2 separate regions of the Homo sapiens genome follow, and region 2 is linked to region 1. The links are contacts of gene promoters, found by promoter capture Hi-C in blood cells and fetal thymus (Javierre and others, 2016). All regions are on one chromosome and are shown on one strand. The core of a region is centred on a gene start or on the middle of the fragment in contact, and the rest is flanking DNA. Distances in the headings are between cores, read along the strand shown. Region 1 holds the start of TCEAL1 (transcription elongation factor A like 1). Region 2 overlaps SLC25A53 (solute carrier family 25 member 53).

Evidence for each region. The method cuts DNA at HindIII sites, captures the fragments that hold promoters and counts their contacts. A CHiCAGO score of 5 or more calls a contact.
Region 2: a fragment that was not itself captured here is called in contact with the fragment with the promoter of TCEAL1 in region 1 in 1 of 17 cell types (total B cells); the score reaches 5.4 in total B cells.

What each region holds. Positions count from the first base shown.
Region 1 is chrX:103,627,540-103,631,747 of GRCh38, reverse strand. TCEAL1 (transcription elongation factor A like 1) reads right to left here and starts at 2,773. Exons shown (of 3, transcript NM_004780.3): 1 at 2,723-2,773; 2 at 2,175-2,254; 3 at 795-1,863. The coding sequence starts at 1,831. The coding sequence ends at 1,352. RefSeq lists enhancers at 1,819-1,888, 1,959-2,008, 1,913-2,207, 3,079-3,148. The HindIII fragment of the contact is 2,900 bases long and covers 2,449-4,208 here.
Region 2 is chrX:104,116,998-104,121,631 of GRCh38, reverse strand. All of the region lies in intron 1 of SLC25A53 (solute carrier family 25 member 53), which reads left to right. Among named protein-coding and RNA genes, the nearest start is that of ZCCHC18, 6.8 kb to the right of the region's middle. The HindIII fragment of the contact is 1,901 bases long and covers 1,246-3,146 here.

The DNA.
Region 1 (4,208 bases), core at 1,524-4,023:
TCCCCCGGGTTCAAGCCATTCTCCTGCCTCAGCCTCCCGAGTGGCTGGGACTACAGGCGCCCGCCACCACACCCGGTTAATTTTTTTTTTGTATTTTTAGTAGGGATGGGGTCTCACCGTGTTCCCCAGGATGGTCTCGATCTCCTGACCTCGTGATCTGCCTGCCTCGGCCTCCCAAAATGCTAGATTACAGGCGTGAGCCACCGCGCCTGGCCTTACTAAGCATTTTTTAAAGACATTGAGGTCTAAGCAGCATTGAGATGGTAGCCTCCTAGCTAAGTGCAATATTAAAGCTGGAAGAAGGGCATTCATATATCTGCAGGAGACACAATTCAGCTTGGGCCCACCAGGGACTCCAGAGCAATCAGTGAGGCTTTGTACCTTAAGCAGTCCAGCACGTCAGCAGGGATGAGAGCCAGTGGAAGGATCAGGACCCAGGAGAAGGAGCAGCTGTGCCTAGCAGATACGGTAGGTATCTGAGAGTACAGCAGGACATGAATAGAATGTGGCACTCACTTGGAATCTCACCGGAATTGTTTGTGAGCACAAGTGAGATCTCCTTTGGGTACCTTCCCTATGTCTGCAGGGAATCTATAGGGGTTGGGGTCCTGCCTGTGCAGGTGGAATAAAGACCCCGAACATAGCTCACACAACCTTTTTCTCATCTGGTCCCACAGTAGCACTGTAAAGCAAGTATTATTCCTATTTAAATGAGAACAAAATGACTATTAAATATAATCCATATCTGGCTAATATTTGTGCCTAAGAGATTCAGAAAAAAACATAGGATTCACTTTTTTTAAAGTTCTGACAAGTATTTATTAAGTGCCACATTGTCGTTATAAGCTGATTGACAGTTTTCTTCAAAATTGTGTGATTTTTTCATTATATATTTTTGCAACACAAGTAAAACGTTTGTCCTGAAAAAATGAGAAATTCAGATAAAACAAAAATTTAAAAAATCACCTATTATCTTACCACACAACCACTGTTATGCCTTTGAAGTCTATACTTTTAGCTTTTTCTTTGCATATTAATATATAAATATACATTTTTTTTACAAAAATGGGATACAATATATACCATTTGAAAATTGCTTTTTTCGTTTCACAATATATAATGTACATCTTTCATGCAAATGTGTAGGGCTCATGACTGAAAGAGGGAAACTTGTAGATTTTAGGGGGAAACCTCAACTTTAAGCGAGTTACATGCTAAACATCTAAAATAAAGCCTCACAAAAAGTTAAAATTCAGAATATGGGAAAAGGCATTAAGAAAATGCAAACAGAAAGTCCAGGTGGCAATGGCAATACTATTAGCAGGCAAAACAGAATTAAAGGCCGAACACATTAAATAGGATAAGGACGGCTCCGTTTTGCCTTCCAGTGCATTATCATCAGTTTGTTTCTTACTCTTTTCATCTCTTCTAGCTCATCTGCTGCCTGTATCATCTCCTCATTGCTTAAATTTCTGCCATGTATGTCCCCTCTAAATTGCGGGCGAGAACGAGCCAACCTTTCTTTAAAGCTTCCTTCTTCAAGCTTATGTTTTCCTACTCCACAAGGAGGCTGCTCCATGGGAGGGCGCCCCTCAAACAGGTCCTTCCTGGAAAGACCCTCCTGCGGAGGGCGCTCCTCCGAGAGGAGCATCTCAGGCAGGAGCTCAGGCAAGAGCTCCTCAGGAAAGAACTCCTCCTCCGAGGACTGCTCCTCCGAAGACTGCTCCTCGGGGGACTGCTTTTCGGGAGAGTGCTCCACCGGAGGCCTCTCCTCATCGGTCTTGGGCGCGCTCTGCGGCTCTTCTTCATTTTCTTTGCGTGGTTTGTCCATGTTGGGAATTTTCTTCTTCAAGCACAGTTATTCTTAGGAGACAAGAAAGGCAGAATAGAGTCAGAATACTAAGCGGCTGGACTAACACCCAGGCCGTGGGTTCCAATACCTGCCTTTTCCTGATTCGGGGGCCAGGTCCTCAACCTTGCGCTTTCCCAGAGGCTCTCCGGCTCTCCCGACTCCGCCGCTTCCCGGTCGCCCCCTCCTTCCCGAAAGCCCACCATTTTCCCAGCAGGCTTTGCTACAGGCCTCGCCCGCAGTGACAGGGGCGGGACAGTGCGGCCTGCAGACTCCATGCCTTTCGGCGTCCACCCTCGCGCCCCAGTCCCGGCCCACTGCGTACCCCTTCCCTGACCTGGACCTTTCCGGGCCGTGTGCTCCTAGTCGTCCTCTCCTCGAGGTGCCCCGCTGTGACCAGCAGACCTGCACACAGACGCAAGACAGGGTAGGGGGCGGGGAGTGGGGAGGAGGGACGGACTGACTGACACCCCCCACCCCCCACTTTCTGGGCACCAGCCACTGCCTGCACGCTCCCCTAGCTCTCGGGTTCTCTTTTCGTCTCAGCCCCTGCGTCAAGCTTCGTCCTCCGTGCTCCCACCTCCCCACCCCGCAAAGCTTGCCATTTCTTTTCAGATGAGAAGTGGAAGCGAAGCATTTTTAGAAACTATTTCCAAATGTCTGTACCCCCCTCCCGGGGGACGGGGGAGGTACTCGCCTCCCCACCCCGCCCCAAAGACCACCATATTTTGCACAGAAATGTGGGCGCGGGGGGCGGGGCTGGAGCTTAGGGAAAGGCCTGGACTCCGCCATCCCGATTCTGTCAACCCCATTCCCCGGGTTACTAGGCAGCGCCGACACTCACACCGATTTAAGAGGGTAGAGGGAACTTACTTCTTCTGCTTTCCCTCTCGACCAAAGGGTAATAGGGAGATGGTGGACAGGCAAAAAAAAGACCGGGACGAGAGGGACTTGGGCACATAGAGGCTCCTGGTCACGTGAGGGACGCGCGTCACTGCCGAACTCAGATCCCCAGTTACCACTTTGATCTGCGGCCCTGCCGCAGCCACCTGCTAGTGCCTGCTAGTGTTCTCTGACCCGAGACACACCAGGCATTGTCACTCACCTCTCTTTGTATTTGCCTTTTCCTGGTTGCCAGAGACGGTCCGCATCTAGTCTCGGGTAGTATTGCCTCTTCCTCTGTGCTACTTCCCCTAGTACCACCTCTTTCTCCCCTCCTCCCTTCCTTAGCCACCAAGGCCCCTTATTTCCCCTGCAGTTCAGATCCTGCACTGACGTTTGACTGTTCACCTTCATAAATCAGTATTATATCCTTATATCCCAACACTCTCAGTTTTAATCCACATCCGTATCTCCATCATGTCCATTTAGGCTCATTCAGCATGTTTCATCTCTTGTCACTTTCATGGGAGACAATCTTTCACTTTTTCTTGACATCACATTTTGTTTTTTTGAGCCCCCAGATCTAAATTGGTAATCATTCAGTTCGAGACCTGTAGAAAGAGTTGAGTTTGTAAAGTTTGTAGATCTAAAAAGAATGAATACTTTGATTTTCATAAATCAAATACGTATTTGTCCATCTAAGTACAAACAGTCCAGAACACTTATTATCTGAAATGGGATAGTCCTTGGTGGAGAGCTTGGCATTATTCTCTCTATGTGTGTATATATATACACACATATATATGCGTGTATATATATACACGCATATATATGCATGTATACACACTGAATAGATTATAAAATATATTTATATACATGTGTACATATATATAAATTATTCAGTAGTTATTCATAATAGAATAAATAGATTTTACTGGGACTCTCAATCCTTAACCAGCCACCTCTTGGTGCTTCTGGTTGAGGAAGTTTATATTAATTCACTAAATCAACAAATATTTGAGTTCTGGGACTGCTGGACCCCAAAAGATAGATGCAGCAGGGAGGGCATTCCATATTAAACTATGCAATAATTCTGTTGACCACATACTGAATAGCAGGACTACAATTATGCTAGCATTTTCAATTGTCATTGCAATATGTATTTTTTTTTATCTAACAGTATTTTATGATCTTTAACCTTATGCCTGCCTCTCATCTACTCACATCAGCCTGGATGCTACTTTCTTATGCAGATGCTCTTTCCCCTACAGAGCATACTACTTCCCTTCCCTCTGTGTTTTACACTTTCAGGGTAGATGACCATCTGATCTGTGAGGATCCTGGGATTTTGTTTTAAAGCCAGGCTGTTTAGTAAGTTTCTGAACAGAAATTCATGTGAAATTTCCCCTTTTAAGAACTGTTTGTTGCTTTTCTCTGATATCTGATTAACTTTGTGTTGAGATAGCATTTAGACAAA
Region 2 (4,634 bases), core at 947-3,446, 490 kb before region 1:
TGACCTTTAAATATTATTAAGTATTAAAGTCTCTAGTAGCTCAGAGTTAAAGGGTATTCCCAGCAAGTTTAAGAGATGAGGAAGGGCCCTGAATGTGAGCCAGAGCTACTAAAGTAGGATGTGCCACAGGCCACCTCTCTTTCTGCTCTGGTTCCTGTGAAACATAGTGCTTGTTCCAGTAACGTCACCTCTAGGAATGTATCCTCAGGAAATAATCGTTCACATGTGCAAACCTGTATGTGAATAAGGATGCTTTTCTCAGTGGGTTTATAACAGTGAAACAAGGAAACAAGGTAATGAATGGCTCTAAAGAGGCTGGTTTAATAAATCATGGATACAAGTAAATAATTGGATTTAATGCAGTTATGAAAAATAATCTAAACACCTTGGACCTCAGTTGCCTGGTTTTTAAATGAAGAAAGCCAAAGAAGAATTGTATTCCTCAACTAGTTTTAGGAGGCCAGCAAACCTTTGATACCAAAATCTCACAAAGACATTATACAGAAAGGAAAATTACAGGTGAATCTCTCTTACAGACATAGATCTAAAAATCCTAAACAAAATATTAGCAAATTGAATCCAGCAATATATAACAATTGTAATAAATCAGGACCAAATCTTGTTTATTTCAGGAATGCCTGGTTGGTTTATTATTAGAAACCCAAATAATGTAATTTAGCATTTTAACTAATAAATGAGAAAAAAGCATATATAATAGATACAGAAAAAGCATTTCATAAAATTCAGCATCCATTGATTATTTTAAAAACTTATGGTAAATTAGGAATGGAAGGAAACATTTTTAAACTGATAAGTGGTATTTACTAAAAACCTGCAGCAAGCATCCACTTAATGTTGAATTGCTCAAAGTGGTCCCTTGAGTTCAGGAATAGGACAAGAATGTCTCTTCTCACTAGTTGTACTCTAGGTCCCAGTCGATGCAGTAAGGTAAGAAAAAGAAATGTATATGGATTGGGAAAGAAGAAATAAAACTACCATCATTCACAGATGACATGCTTGTGTATGCAGAAAATTCTAAGGAAGCTACAGATTAAAATTATTAAGAGATTAGCAAAGTCAGTGTACAATATCAACATCAAAAGACCAGTTATATTTCTATATACCATCAACAAGCCCTTAGAAAATGAAATTTAAACCAATATTTAATTTATAGTAGTATACACAATTACCTTGAACTAAATGTAATAATAGACGTACAAAACCTCAAGCAAAAGTTATGAAGCTTTGTTGACAATGTCAAGTGTTTGTGAGGATGTGGAGCAACAGGAACTCTCAAACATTGATGGTGGAAGTGGGAATTGGTACAACTTTGATATACAGTTTGGTGGTATCTAGTGAAGTTGAAAATATACACAATCTATGAGCCAGCAATTCCTCTCCTACATATATACCTTGTGTGTGCACATATGTACCAGGAGACATTAAAAACATGTTCTTAGCAACATTTTTCATAATTGTCCCCAACTGGAAACAGTCCAAATGTCCACCGACAGTAAAAGGATAATTTCTTGTAAAGTCGTAGAATGGAAAGCTGTAACACAATACTGAGAATGATGAACCGATGCCGCATGCAACCAGGTTGAATCTCAGAAGCATAATTGTAAGGGCAATGAGCTGGATATAGAAGGATATATGCATTATAGTTCTATTTACATAAAGCTCCAGAAACAGTAGTGTTTGGGCATCTATATTTGAGTGGTAAAGCTATAAAGGAAAGTAAGAAAGCAACAGCTAAAACTGTCATGAGAGTGTTTTGTTTTGTTTTGGAGAGAGGAAAGAGGTTGTGATTGGGCAAGGACTTATGGGAATTTCTGGAGTTCTGATCTGTTCTGTTTCTTGATCTTTATGGTGATTTGCTTTATAATAATTTGTTAAGCTGTAAATTTATATTTTATGCACTTTCCTCTGCTCCCCCCGCCCCCCGCTTAAAGAGTGTTTTAGAATGTGGAAATTTTAAGATAAGATCTATCTCAGGGCTTGTTGTAAGAATGAAATGAAGTATAAAGCCATGTAGAGCTTGTAGAATATGCCTGGCACTTTGTAAGACCTTAATAAATGTTAACTATCTAAACACAATACAGATTTGCTGTTATTATTGCTTCTCTTATTTGTTGCCAGCCCTGCCCCCTTTCCATGATATTTGTTGCCAATGTTTCTCAGCTTACTGTTGGTATTTTATTTCTGTTAATGCTGTCTTCTGAGTTATCAGTCTTTTCTTTTATACTTTCTTTCATTACTCTTAACCATAGAAAGTTCTCTCCAACCCAGAGGTTTAACATGTATTGTGTTGCAGCTTTAAAAGGGGTTGCTTTTGAACATTTGATTCTTTTTATTCATTTTATAACAAAATATACGATTAAAGAAGAATTAATACATAATTGCATAAAATCTACATTTACTGCTCAAATGTATCTGGGATTCATATTTAGTGTCATGGGAGAAAGGAAACTGACCTTTTTTCCAATCAGGTAATGAAGTTCCCCCCAGCACCATGAATTGAACAATTTATCTCTCCTCCACTCATTGTTGCAGCTGTCTCCTCTTGCATACATCAAATTCAAAACCATTTGCACCAAAAGCATAGACTGGAAACTTGATACCTGAACTGAATGTGATAATGCAACTCTGAAGGGGGAGGGGATGGTTGCCAGGCAGCAGGAAGGATAGCTGCAACAAGAGGATGTGAAAGAAAGGTGGCCTGTGTCACACAAGTATTCCTTAAAGGCTGCATCCTTGTGTATGGCGCACAAGCCACTTGCTGCTATGATATTTGGCTAATTATGTCTGTTGACCTTGCTTTCCTCATGTATCATCTTTATATAATAGTAACACCTACCTCATGGGGTGCTGTGCACATGATGGCTAACTCAAGTAAGGAACACAGACTTTGGGATCAGTCAGTCCAGTGTCTTATCCTTGACTGTACCACTAAATAATTACATGACCCTAAGTACGTTTCCTAACTTCCCAGCCTGTTTCATCATCTGAAATATGTGTCAATTAATAGTAATTAAATTAATAGCAAGTTAGAAATAGAAAGTCATGCTTATCTTAAGGGAGTTGCTATGAAAAGCTAATAATGCATTTTAAAGGCTTGGCACTGGGTGCCTGGCATGTAATAAGCTTGGAATAAATCGCACTTGCAGTGATTTTAATTTTTATTGCTATTGTGGAAGGATCAGGAAGGGAAAGAATATTCGGCAAAAGACACTGAGAAGTAGGCATCAAAAAGATCTGGGAGAGGGAAACCATGAGATGGATGTCATGGAAACAAGGGAAAATAGTATCAAGAAGGAGGGAGATATTGCAAAAGGAGGTCATTCAAAGGCTGGTTTCTCCTGACAAGACAAAAGAGCAATTTTCATCTCTTGGCGACTAATGAGAATGAAGGGAGAAAGGAAAGGAAAAACAATAATTATAAATGAAGGGTATCAAACACAAAATTTTTTAAAAGCCTTCTTTCACTTAACCCTGTAATCACTCCAAGTCTTCTTTGTCTTCCAATTAGGGAAAATACATACTTCTTGAATAAAGGAAAGCCAGTGTGACACAAAATGAAATAAAAAGTCTCACTTTTGCATCATTTTGGTGAAGTAAAAATTTAGACAGTTTCAGGTTTACACAACAGAGGACAGGATGGGGGGGAAGGAAAGGGGATGAATTACACAGCAGGGTTTCAAAGTAATGATCTTGAACCTCCAAGCTAACTCCAGTGAAAAGGAGGATGGGGGTAGGTGTAGCATTTATTCCTCTTTTCACTCTACCTGGTTTCAGAAAGAAATTATGACAGCATATCTAGGTAAATCATTCAATAGCATTTATAGAGTGAATTTGAGAAAAGGTGAGCAGCAAGGGGAACTATATTCTAATCTTGGAGAGATGAGTGGGCAAATCCCCTCCAAGGATAGACTTTGGGAGAGGTAGGGAGGAATAGGGGGCTGTAAGAGCCAGGTAGTGTTGGGGGACCCTGTGGCTTTGGGGGCTTGATGAAGCTGCCTCCTGCGTGGGTGGTGGGGTCCTCTTTGCCTGTGGTGAGATGGAGGTGGCTGCCAGGAGCCAGAGGTGCCCCAGAGGGATGCAAAAAGTGGGTCTCTTGGACCTTTACTCCTGCTCAGTTCTCAGCTAAAAGGTCAGAGGCAGAGGGGCCCTCCCAGTCTACTGGCCATGAGCATTAAGGAGGCTGAGGCTTAAGGCCATCATGGAATGCGGAGGAGGGGGAGGTGGTGATGGGCAGAGCACATGAAGCTGAGCCTCCATCTCCCTCCACCAAGAGGTGAGTGTGGCTCCAGGGAAGGGGAGTGGTGGTAAAGTGAGACTGTGATAAAATGGATGGAGCAAGGGGGATAGGAATGAGATTGCGGGGATATGGATGAAGCAGGGGGGATCTGAATGAGATTGTGGGGATATGGATGGAGCAGGGGGGATATGAATGAGATTGTGGGGATATGGATGGGGCAGTGGGGATCTGAATGAGATTGTGGGGATATGGATGGAGCAGGGCGGATAGGAATGAGACTGAGGATACAGATGGAGCAGGAAGGATCTGAATGAGATTGTGGGGATGTGCATGGAGCAGGGGGGAACTGAATGGGATTGTGGGGATATGGATGGAG